Linked DNA regions of Homo sapiens: all the other regions are linked to region 1. The links are contacts of gene promoters, found by promoter capture Hi-C in blood cells and fetal thymus (Javierre and others, 2016). All regions are on one chromosome and are shown on one strand. Each heading gives the region's core, a stretch centred on a gene start or on the middle of the fragment in contact. The rest is flanking DNA. Distances are from core to core; before and after follow the strand shown.

Evidence for each region. Contacts are between HindIII fragments. The CHiCAGO score rates a contact against its expected background, and 5 or more counts as called.
Region 2: a fragment that was not itself captured here is called in contact with the fragment with the promoter of ZMIZ1-AS1 in region 1 in 3 of 17 cell types (total CD4 T cells, naive CD8 T cells and total B cells); the score reaches 7.8 in total CD4 T cells.
Region 3: the fragment with the promoter of TSPAN14 here is called in contact with the fragment with the promoter of ZMIZ1-AS1 in region 1 in 1 of 17 cell types (non-activated CD4 T cells); the score reaches 5.5 in non-activated CD4 T cells.

Annotation. Positions count from the first base shown.
Region 1 is chr10:79,065,890-79,069,781 of GRCh38, reverse strand. ZMIZ1-AS1 (ZMIZ1 antisense RNA 1) reads left to right here and starts at 2,334. Exons shown (of 10, transcript NR_024431.2): 1 at 2,334-2,394; 2 at 3,196-3,334. It overlaps ZMIZ1 (zinc finger MIZ-type containing 1), which reads right to left and starts at 816. Exons shown (of 25, transcript NM_020338.4): 1 at 512-816. RefSeq lists silencers at 56-1,035, 1,296-1,365, 2,166-2,375, 2,476-2,525, 2,566-2,775, a cis regulatory region at 498-1,183 and an enhancer at 1,057-1,902. The HindIII fragment of the contact is 3,772 bases long and covers 1-3,384 here.
Region 2 is chr10:78,038,835-78,042,713 of GRCh38, reverse strand. It overlaps RPS24 (ribosomal protein S24), which reads right to left. Exons shown (of 6, transcript NM_033022.4): 5 at 2,489-2,510; 6 at 2,017-2,099. The coding sequence ends at 2,508. Among named protein-coding and RNA genes, the nearest start is that of RPS24, 6.9 kb to the right of the region's middle. RefSeq lists enhancers at 1-83, 1,364-1,413, 1,482-1,983, 2,304-2,813, 2,814-3,325. The HindIII fragment of the contact is 642 bases long and covers 1,837-2,478 here.
Region 3 is chr10:80,452,612-80,456,784 of GRCh38, reverse strand. TSPAN14 (tetraspanin 14) reads right to left here and starts at 2,475. Exons shown (of 9, transcript NM_030927.4): 1 at 2,414-2,475. RefSeq lists enhancers at 1,360-1,409, 1,440-1,699, 1,649-2,166, 2,910-3,119 and a silencer at 1,830-2,879. The HindIII fragment of the contact is 5,289 bases long and covers 1-3,158 here.

The sequences.
Region 1 (3,892 bases), core at 1,085-3,584:
CAGACGCACAAGTTAACACCACCACCCCTTGCCATCCTGAAATCCAGCGCTTTCCCCAGCGGTTCCTGTACACACACAGGCGCACAACTTCGCATCTCCCCAGAGGAGGCGAAGGAGACCGAGGCGGTCCTTCCCTCCCTCCTCCGATTCCCGGTCCTGCCCGGCCCCCGGGTGTAGGGAGCGAGGGCTGGAGGCGCGCCGGCAGGAGGCGGGCACCGGGTCCGCGCGCGCACGACCACACTTACGCCCCGCACACCCTGACAAACCCGGCCCCCACGCGCAGCCCAAGCCGGCTCCGCGCAGCCGGGAGCTCGCCGGCCGCCGGGCCTCGGCCCCCGGCCGCCAAGGAGAGCGGAGCGGAGCCCGCGCCGCCGGCCGGTCGCCCCGCTCCGGGGGACACTTTAAGGGAAAAACCCCAGCACCCAATCCCCACGCTTGCACCCCGAGAGTCCCCGGGGAGCGGGAGGTAGCCCCGGAGCCAGCGGGCGCCTGGCTCTGGCCCCAAACTTACCGGGCGCTGCGAGCGCCGCTGCCGCCGCTGGAGGACGCGCCGCCGCCACCGCCGGGTAGGGCAGGCTCGGGCCGGGAGGAGCGCAGCGAGGGCGCCGAGATCCGCTCGGCTCCGGCTCCTGCTCCGCGCCGGCTGGGGCTGGGGTCACCGCGCTGCGCCGGCGTTGCTCGCTCGCTCGGCCGCCCGATCGCTGCTCGCCCGCCTGCCGCCCGGCCGCCCGCTCTCCCCGGCGCCCGCCGCCGCCGCTCGCTTTTTTAATGTCCACAGACAGTGAAAAGGAACTCGGCGTTAGGGGGTGAGTAAGTGAATCAACTCGCCCGGAGCCGAGCAAGTTGAAGTGTCAGATTACATTGGCTATTCTATTTCCAAAGGGCCCCGCGCCGCCGGCCGCCCGCAAAAGCCGGTGCGGAGTCAGGCCGGAGTGGAGCGCCGCGCCGCGCCGCCGCCGCTGCCGGCGCTCGGCTTGGCTCGCGCTCTGCGCTCTCTTTCCCCTTTCCTTTTCGCCTCTCCTCGTTCTCTCCCTCGCCTTTCCTTTCCTTTCTCTTCCTCTCTTCCTCGCTCCTCGGTCTCGGCGCTCTCCCAGCTTTTCTTCTCCTGGCTCCTGGTTCCCCGCTACGCCACCAGTCCACTCACCTCTCTCCTTGCCCTACTCCCTCCGCTACTCCCTGACGCCCCCTGCAGCCCCCAGCCCCCCTGCAGGCCCCAGCCCCAGTAAGTTTGGAGAGGGGAACAAATGCTGAGCCTAGGTAGGGACCACCTTGGGGAGGAAGCCAAAATCACACTGCTCACCCGAGAGCCCCTGCCCCGCGCTGGCACGCCCCCGCCTGGAGTGCACTCGTGGCCCCGGGCGCTGTCAGGTACCCGAATTGGGGTAAGCGAGTTGGTAACTGGACCTCCAAAGCCTTCCCCTGGGGTTGACTTTGGAATTGTTCCTACAGCCCGGGGACTGGTGGTTGGGGTGGGAAGAGGACCACCACCACCAAGGGTGACTTTGAGGGAGACTAGAGCGCGGCCCCCCGACAGCTGTGGGGGAGCGGGGGTGTGGTGGCCACAGTTGATCCGCGGCACCTAGCACAGTCCAGAGACGCGTGGATTCCCCTAGGCCCGGCGCGGAGCGCCCGGGGCGCTGTGCGCGCGGGCTGCGTGGGAGCTGCTAGGCTGGGGCCTGGCCCTCTGCCCCGGACTGGGCACTGCCAGAGATAGCGGAGAGCTAAGGTACTCACGAGGCGCAGTTGGGTGCACCCACTCGCGGGAGTTCCCCTAGCCGACCCACCCCCCCCCCCCGAGAGCATCCAACTACGCGCCCACTTTGGCTCACGTCCACTGCCACTCTCACGGAAACTCCTACAAGAACGGCACACACGTTCGCTCCCTCAGCATTGCAAACACGCTCCCCCCCAAACCACAAACGCGCCCCCACACACTCGCTTACTTTCCCTCACAAAGATGCCCGCTTACACGGCCACAGCAGGCACGCTCAGAGACACGCAGTTACACACACACATCGCTGTACACAACCCCACATACAATCAAAAAACAAAACACGAAACGTTCCCCTGGGCACTAAATCCTCACGTTAACGTACACACACAAACACACGCCCTCCTCTCCCACTTCCTCTTCCATACCCCTTCCTCGAGGCCCCCCACCCCTGATTTTCGGCACCCCCAGTCCCAATCATAATTGGCGCCCGCGCAGCCCTCTTTGGACACACACGCGCCGCCCACGCACGCGCTCCCCTCCCCGGCAGGCGGGGGCGGCTTCGGCCGGGAGCCGGCGGAGCCCGCTTCGGATTCCAGGTGTGGCAGTGACTCCGCGCTCCACGTTTTGCAGGCTGCCACCGTGTCGGAGGCGAGGCGAGGAAGGGAGCTGGAATAACAAAGGCAAGTTGGGGAGAGCGCAAGGGGGCGCAGCCCCGGCCGGGCTGCGGGGGGAGCCTTGCACGGCCGGGGCTTCGGAGGCTGCAGGGTCGGGGGCGCGGGGAGCCGGAGGTGGGGGAGGAAGGGTGGGGGGAGAGGGGCGGGGCTGAGGCGTGACGTCAGAGAACAATGACACCGCCGGGGGGCGGGCACCCGGAGGCGGCCCAGGCGGGGGTCTCCCCCGGGGCCTGGGGCGGGCCGAAGATGTCCAGGCCTGGCCGGAGCCGCCTCCTGATTGACGAGGCCCGCATGGGAGTGCGGACGTGCAGCACAGATTTGCGGGTCTCCTGGGCCTCTTGGGCGGTGATCAGCGCGGACCTTGGGCCAACCGGGGAAGCAGGCCGGAGCACTACCCCCCACCCCCATTTTAGAACATCCTTCTGAGGGCTTCGCTGACCTCGGCTTGAACTCCTTCAGAGCCGGAGAGATCACTCCTTCCACCACCGAGGGAGAGGAGGCAAAATGAATTTGCCAGCTTTGAATTCATTCTCAAGGCTCCGCTAGTCTCACAGCCAGTGAACTCAGTCTGGAATTCCTGAAAGCTCAGAAAACTGCTGCTTAGGTCCACCCGGGCGTGGGGGACGGGGTGTGTGGGGGCGCAGGCGGCGGAGTGGGGGCGTTATTTTATTTTCCCCAGGGGAAATTCTGCCTCCCTATGCCATTGGGTGCAAGAAAAGGCACTCCTTTGGGGCCTCAGTCTTCCTACCTGTCACATGGACATGGACTGTGATGACTGCTGCTCTTCCACCCCCGCCCTCCCTGTAGGTGGCAGCTGAGCATCCCTGGAGAGGGTGGGTGGTATGAAAGCACTTCCAGACCTCTAGGGACACCAGGGAGTCATGGTCCCAGCACATTGCTGTGTGATTGAGCCCCTCCTCAGCCTGTGGGTGGCCTAAGTTCACAGGTAGGTACACCAGGGCCACCTGAGAAACCTCCGAAGGTAGGAATTAAGCTTGCAGAACGGTGGCTGCAGCCACAGCTGTCCCACTCCCAGCAATCCACAGCATTGCAGCAGTGGCAGCAGCCACCCCATACCCAGGTCCAAAATCCCAAAAGAGAGTTTCTGGGTATTTAAGGATTTGGGATGTGATAATCCAGCCCAGCCCACAATTAGACCAGTTCTTGTTGCCTTAATGACCAGCTAGGTCTGGACGCCCAGCCCTCTCAACCTTTCTGTCCAGATTCCTCAATAAGTATCCAGGGCCTGCCCACTTCCAGGAATTGGGGGATGCAGGTGACCTCGGAGGTGACCACTCATGTTCAAAGTCTCCTGTCCAGAAGCTCCACCCCCTACCCCACATCCCAGCCCCCTACTCTCCCACCAGTATTTACATCTGAAACCCAGGAAGTGGCTGCAGAGGGCAGAGGAGCCAAGTAGGCTCAACTTAGTAGCATGGAACCAGGGATCATTTCAACCCTCCCCTTCTGTGCAAGCATGGCAGCAAGTCAGAAAGCCCACCAG
Region 2 (3,879 bases), core at 908-3,407, 1.0 Mb after region 1:
TTCAAAGATCCCTGCTCTCTCTAAGCCACAGCTTCCCATCAGTGACAAGCTGAAGGAAGGGATGTGCTCCCTCAATATTGATTCAGCTTAGTAAAGTCAAGTTTGCATTTTATGGAGGCTCTTCCAAAGCCTGCTGACAGCACAGGGTAGCCTGGTTACTGTGAGGGCCTACAATGTGCTGAATCTGTCCACAGTTTGAGTTCCCACAAGTCCCTGCTTCCTGACAAACAATTGCTTAGCACTAGTTTCCAAACTGTTTTCACAGTTGTTACATCCTCAGCCTCAAAATAGCCTTGTGAGCCAGGGTAGCTAGCAGATACCCTTGGGAGCCCAATTTAAAAGACAAATTAACCCTAACAAGGTACCAGGTGACTTCCCCAAAAAACACTTGGATGGACTAGATGGAAGAGAAGCAGGCAGCAGGGACAGAAGACCAGAGGGCAGGTAGAGGAGGGTGTTAGCTGGCCGTAGGAGCAAAGGCTGTGGAGACCAGAGAATACCTGTCCCAACAGATGCAGCCAGCCTGGAGCCCTGCCAATTGTTATCAAACAGGAAGGTGGGCTACTACTGCTGCTTCTGGTATTTCAAGAGGCTGGAAATCCAGACCTTTACGTAAAATTTGCCAAGTTTCCAAATGTTATGCCTAACAAGGCTCACAGCAAGACTGCCACATTTTCTATAATATCACAACCCAAGTGGATCCTCTGGAAAAATAGGCCAAGCCTGAGTTTCATCCCACCTCCCTTCCCAAGGCTACTGGCTGAAAGACTACAACTTCTGCCCTGAGCACAGCTGAACAGAAAAGCCTCCCCACTTCGTGACTTTGATGCCAACCTTCAATCATTCAGGCTCTCTGCAGCTATGCCCTTTTTCTTCACATCAGAAACTATTTCCTACCCTTCAGTTCTCAATTGCTTCCTTCCACTCTCCCTGCATCAACTTAGCAACCACCCCCAGCTCCACGTCCTGTCCCATCCCATCCCATCCCATCCCTGCAGCACTGTCAGGATCCTCACCACCTTGCCTCTGCAAGCTGCTCACAGGGTGCCTTCTCTGCTTCCACACTCCAGCTCAGTCACAGGAAACTGCATCTCAAACCCCAACCTTTGCTGCCCCTAGCATTACCTTCAGCCTGGTATGCACTGTTCATCAAAAAATGTCAAATCACATCAAAGACCCCATTCTTCCACACGTTCTGTACTAGTAAGCCATTTCCTGGTCCTAGCAAAGTAGTAGCAGATTCCTTAGCAAGAGAACCTACAGGGCCAGAGGCCCCACAAACCGAAGTACACAGCCTCTGTAGATATGAAAACAGAACTCCAACCACCCCCTGGCCAGCAGGCCCAGCCCCATGACTTAACTCTTCTCAGCCCTGCCCTCCTGTCTGTAGGTGCTCCATGCAGGGGCTGTGACCATCTTTTCTCCAAAACATTCCACTACCCTTCCTTCCTGCAACCTCAACCCTTCTGCCTTCACGGTATTGCTTTTCCTGAGTCCCCTTCATGCCCAACCAAGTCTTTCAGCTCTCTACTGCTTCCTGAGATTTCTCCAGTTTATCCAGACATGGTACTTTTTAGACTCTAAGCCAGACGTGGTCGCTCATGCCAGTACTTTATGTGGCCAAGGTAGGAGGATCGCTTGAGCCCGAGTTCAATCAAGACCAGCCTAGGTAACAAAGCTAGACCCTGTCTCGAAAAAAAAAACACCTCACTGTAGCCTCGAGCTCCTGGGCTTAAGTGTAATCATCCCACCCAAACCTCCCAAAAGTGCTGATGACTGTGAGCCACTACACTGCGTCCACCGCGGACATGGTTCTTAACACAGCATTTACAAGCTTGACTCCCAGATGAACCCACCTAAGCTATAAACCAAGCAGCAAACAAACACCACCCCATGACATTAAGTTTTCACTGAATGCTTCATGGAGCATGTGAACTTGGACAGCAACTGAAATCAGCAGACTAACCTCCTAGCAGTCCCAGGAAACTGCAAATACATTTCAAACAACCAGACACATGAAGTTTTTAGTTTATTAATGTTCTTGCGAAAAATCCACAGTGGCCACAGCTAACATCATTGCAGCACCTTTACTCCTTCGGCTGTGAATCAAGAGAAAGAAGTTTAGTCAACAACTGCCTTTAAAATTCTTTAAAGTCTTCAATTCCAAAAGTAGTAACACTCATGCACAACAATTATTAGTAACCTAGAATATCAAGTTATTTTGATGTTATCATAACACAATGAAAGCATCAAGAAATAAAATTTACAAACATTCAAGTTAAGAATAAAACAAAAATAATGGGCTAAATATTGCTAAACCTTAAAAACAAAACCATGTCACTGTTAGTATTTTAAAAGGTTACAACTCTTCAGAATATTTGTAAATCTACTTCTAGATGTACTACACATGATCTGCTTTTAAATTGCTACGTCAGTACACCAAGGAGTCTAGTGATCTACATGACTACATGAAAAGCTTGAATTATACCTGTGATCCAATCTCCAGCTCACTGAATCAGTGGCGGGGAAGGGAAAAAGAGAAAGGAGGGAAAAGAAAGATTTCATTAATAGTCCCTTTTCAAACTCCAAAATAATCTGCATTTAAGTGCATGCAATCAGGTACCTTAAAGATGACCATTTTGTTCTTTGCAATTGTATACAGAGCACTCCTTCCAGACTCACTGATTTTATTCCTCCCAATTCTGACAATGCCTTGCCTGATTACTGTAGTTCTTATGCAAACGAGGTAGCCGGACTTCACAATGAAGAGATCATTAAGCCAATGTGGTACCCAGGATGGCCTTGCCCACTTGTCAATGAAGTACATACCTGAGCCTCTGCCCCTCTGCTCTGCCCAGCAACATTGTGCTGGACACACACCAGGAACAGTTACGAGAATCATTACAGATTCAAGTCTAATTTAACCTCAATGGGAGTGCTCTAAATGATCAGGCAAGTCTTTTAAAAGCTGCCTCAGTTCAATAAAAGATACCATTCACAGCCACAAAAGTAGTACAAGTTAGTATTTAAAAAGAGGCATTAATTTAGCTGAACTAAAAATACAATTGCTCCTCAGATATGAGACTACTAATGCCTTAGTATAAGTAACTTAGTATATAACTCCATCGCAACCAAAAAGCAAGAACAAATACCAATTCTAACATCTAAACAAAACTGAATTAAAAGCAATATTGCTATGGCATTTCTTTGGAGCCAAAGAATTTATGTACTCAAATGCATTGATTTTTCCAGCTGGCTTTTCAGAGCAGTGCTAGTGAGAGGCACCAGTGTAACTTGAAGCAGGAATAGTGATGGCTCAGGTCCCCACAGGTAGCTCCTCCATACCTGTGGGACTCAAAGGCTAAGGGCACTAACTCATAGGGCTCAAAGGCTGGATGAAGAGAACAATCAATGTGTTAAATGTCCTTCAGACCTAGGTCAGAGGACAAATTTTGACTAATTCTTTTGACTAATTCTTTTTGCAACTTCTCTCAACAGGTACAATCCTCACAAACAGGGAGTAGTTCTTAGTGAGTAGTTCTGCTGGCAGTTCATTCATTACATACTCCATGGCGCTGGGACATCAATGTGATTACAGTCCTGGGCAGGCAATCCCAGGTTTACTGCCTTGCCTGGCAGGGAATCACTGCAAAAGGATGCCACAAGAACAAGGGCCTTCATTGATTCAAAATCCCACTACGCCCACCCCACTCCTACCCCACTTATCACATTACAATTTTAGGCTGTTCAGATGTGCAAAATTTGTTTTAAATGAGGTAACAGGCTGGGCACAGTGGCTCACACCTGTAATCCCAGCACTTTGGAAGGCTTAGACAAGCAGACTGCTCAAGTCCGGGAGTTCAAGAGCAGCCTGAGCAA
Region 3 (4,173 bases), core at 1,226-3,725, 1.4 Mb before region 1:
AGCCATCACAGCTGTTTTCAAGGATTAAATGAGTTATTACAAGTCAAACTTCTAGGGTGTAAGTCTCAATAAACTCACATTAGTATCACTATGAAATAATCTTGTCCTTCACTAAATTTTAAGCCAGCAAAGGTTTCCCAGGCCTGGCACAATGCCACTTTGCAGGCACTGCTAAAAGGAATTCTACCTCAGTTGAAGTTAAATGGGTCAAATTCCTGAGCACATGGTGGCATAGAGTGAGGCCTCAGGAAATAGTTCCAGAACCCAGGGCTTTCCTGCTCCCCGGCCTCCATGGGAACTTCACTTCACTGCCGCCACAACCTTCAGGGCAGAGCCATCTCCTCTCCCACTTCATACTGCCACTTCCTACATGAGAAGGACCTTCACCAGTCCTCAGAGACTAGCACAGCTGCCCAGCTGGTGAAGGGGACAATTCCCTGGGCAGCCAACCATTCTGCAGCTCCATGCCCTTTCTTCCTGGGGCAGCCACAAACCTTCAGAAGCACCCATGGGCTCAGACCCCCCCCACAACCCCGTCTCCCTAAATGATCCTGCTACGCTGAGATCAAGCTCAGATCAATAAACACTACTGAGCACCTATGCCATGTCCAGCCTGGGTTCTAAGACCACACCAAGTTCATAGCTGGTGAGGGACTTTCCAGACTTGGAATAGTGCCTGCAACAATGCCTCGCACCCCACAGAAATCTCAACCATGCTTTGTTAACTAAACTGAGGATGACATTAGGTGGCCCAAGCAGTGGAGTTCAGAGATGTGGGGATGGATATATCCAGAGTCTCCAACTGAAGTTGGGGTGCAACACAATGAGAAGGAAAGGGAAAATACATCTGGTGGCCCTGGGTTTCCAGGGCCTGTCACTATAACGTTAGGGATCGGAGTGGGATCAGACTGCGCGTGGTGGCTCACACCTGTAATCCCTGTGCTTTGGGAGGCTGAGGTGGGAGGATCACTTGAGCCCAGCAATTTGAGGCTATGATCACACCAGCAGCTAAGGGGATAGAAGGGCATACAGGGCCATTATGGTGGAGTCTGGGCTTCATTCTGGGGGTGCCAGGGCCCAGGAAGATCCCTGGAAAGACGGCCGCCCCCACCAACCACTCGGCTAGCTGAAATGTGGCAAGGACATAGGGGTGCTCCGATGGCCTGTCCCCAGGTTTCCCTTCACAAATAGAGAAGGGTGGCCGGAGCACTCAGCAGGCACTAACTGCTTCTGGACTTCAAGGTCAAGGGGCAAGGGGAAGGCTACTTTTGAGGATTTGGCAGGCCACTCTCTCACTAGCCCAAGAGCAACTCCCTCTCGGAAGGGAGGAAGATCCCCTGGAGAGCAGACCACTGCCAAGAGCACACCTGCAGAGGCTCCAATACAATGCTCTGCACAGCCGCCCAGCACCGCCTGACCTCCCGGATAGCAGCGCCAGCACAGCCAACGAGTGTGTGACACCGCCGCACTCACCACCGCTCTGCGCCCAGCCCCAGGCCAGTACCCGGGCCCACGACTTCCCCCGACTCCCCCTAGCACGGACTGTTTCTCGCCGGAGATCAACTTTAAGTCCCCAAGACAAGTGCTCCTGCGGTCCCAGGGCCAAAGTCCCTCCACACACCCTCACACAGGCACTTCCTACCCACCCGCACCCCACCCCTGGGGGTGGAGGAGAAGCAGCAGCGGCCCGGGACAAGCACAGTCCGCAGCCACAAACCTCACTCTACCAGAACTCCGGCTAGGTCAGGGGTCAGGCTTTGCTCCCAAACACAACCCCACACGACTAACGCGGAGAAGCTGGGTCACCGCCTACTCAAACTCCGGCCGTCCCAAACCCAAGCCGGGCAGAGTGGGACCCACGGCGGCGTGGGAGACTGAGCACAACCACGGCGGGGCAGGAGGAAGGGGCGGCCCGCCCCGGCCTACGCCCACCCCCACCCCGGACCCGATCTCCTGGGAGCCGAGGGTGGGTGACTGAGCCGAAAGGGTGGCCCATCCCCGAGCTCGCTGCTGGGGACGAGAAGCAGAGCCCCGAGCAGCAGCGGCCGTCCAGGCTCCCGTCGCCCTCACCCCGCCCGGCACGGGCGCGCACTCGCCGGGGCGCGCTGATGGGGCGAGGGCTACCGAACCAGGAGTGCCGGCCCCGGGCCCGCCGCGGCTCTCGTCCGCGCGGCGCCGGAGTTCGGCTCAGCGGGGTCCCGGCGGAGGCCTCCAACCTCTAGCGAGCAATCCTGGCAGACAAAGCCAGCGCCGCCCGCGGGGCCGCTCCTGGGCAGGCGGGGAGGGAGGCTGAGGGGCCAAACAGGGACCTAAGGAGCAGCCCTCGCCCCCGGAGAACGCTCGGGGAAGTCGGCCTCAGACAAAGAAAGGGGCAGGGCCCGACGCCCCAGCCAGGTCTCCGCGCTCTACTCACCCGCGCGCGGCGGCGGCAGCGGCGGCGCGGCCCGGCTCGGCCGAGGAAGTTAGAGCAAGTTCCGCGGCGCGGGGCGGGAGGGCGCGACTCGGGCCGTCCGAGCGGCGGGGGCGGGGCGCGGAGGGGCGCGGAGGGGCGGGGCCGGAGGCGCGGCGCCTGCCGTCTGCCGAGGAAGGGGCGCCGCTTCCCTGCGCCGCCCGGTGCGGCCCCGGGCGCCTGGGCCCGCCCTGGCCCCGCCCCTCCCCCAGCCGCCTCGCCCCTCCCCCACCGCACCCCGCCTCCCGGCCCGCGCGGCACCGGGGACCGCGAGGCCGGGTCGCCGGCCCGCCCCTTTGTCCCGCTCTGGGCGGTGCCGGAGGCTTGGGGCGGCCCCGGTCCGCGCCCTCCCAGTGGGTGCGCGGCGCAGGCCGGGCCTGGCCCGGGGCCGGGCACTTGTAGCCGCCGGGAGCGCTCTGAGCCGTTGCGCTGCGCAGACGCCGCTCTGGCCTTGTCGGAGCCGAACCTGGGAGAAGCACGAGCTGTGGGAGGCGGCGTCTCGAGGGATACACGGGATGACCGTGGAGAGCGGGCGAAGGATTAGGAAAATGGCTGTGGTGGAGATAAGAGGCGTTCCTGCCCGGCTTTGGAGCCTGGGGGCGGGGGTAGTCTTCAATCAAAAGAAGGATGGGGAAAAGGTTTTTATTTCTTTGTAAACCAAGGAGTAAGGACACGCTCCTTCTGGCCTTGGTGCTAAAAATACCAAGCTTTCTTTGGATCGTGGCTGAGATTTCTTCCTAACCTTTACGCTAAAGAGGTGGCTGGGACGATTCTTGTGGTGTAGGGGGGTTTCCAGGGACAGCCAGGGGTGGCGCCCCTCTTTGGATCGTGGCTGAGATTTGTTCCTCACCTTTACGCTAAAGAGATGGCTGGGACGATTCCTGTGGGGTAGAGGGGTTTCCAGGGATAGCCAGGGGCGGCTCCCCAGCCTCAGCCTCCCTACCTGTAGAATGAAGCATGCCACACCTCTGTTTCTTAAACTTATTCGGTGGCTGAGGGCCGAGTGGTCTTCTCTGTTGAGTAACACCAAACAGGGATCTATTAAAACTGGGCTAAGACTGGTTGCCACATGCCAGTACAAGCAACCAACAGGTTAATTCCAATGGAAGGAGGAAATCTTGAAATGGAGACTGTTCAGTCCATTCCCAGGTTTGTTTGGGTTGTTTTTTGAGCTAAGGTATCGCTTTGTCACCCAGGCTGGAGTGCAGTGGCATGACCATGGCTCACTGCAGCCTCGACCTCCCGCCTCAGCTTCCCCAAGTAGCTGGGACCACAGGTGCAGGCCACCACACCTAGCTAATTTTTTTTTTTTTTTTTTTGTAGAGACGAGATCTTGCTGTGTTGCCAGTGATGGTCTTAAATTCCTGGGCTTAAGCAATCCTTCCGCCTCTGCCTCCCAGAGTGCTGGAATTACACGCATGAGCCACGGTGCCTGGCTAATTTTATTTGTTTGTTTAATTAAGAGGGATGCAACCTGTCTGTGACAGCCCAGGCAGCTCTGGAAACTCCCTGGGAACCTGTCCATTCATTCAGCAGATAGTGAGTGTTTGTCTGAGTGCCTGATAATATGCCAGGCCCTGTGTGCATGGTGGGATACTTCAGTGAACAAGACAGCTGAGGCCTTTTGCCCAATAAAGTTAATTTTTAGTGGAGAAGACAAATACATAATCACAAGTTGAAGTAAAGGCTGGGACAAAAACAAGGGGCTAGAATAGAGAATAAAA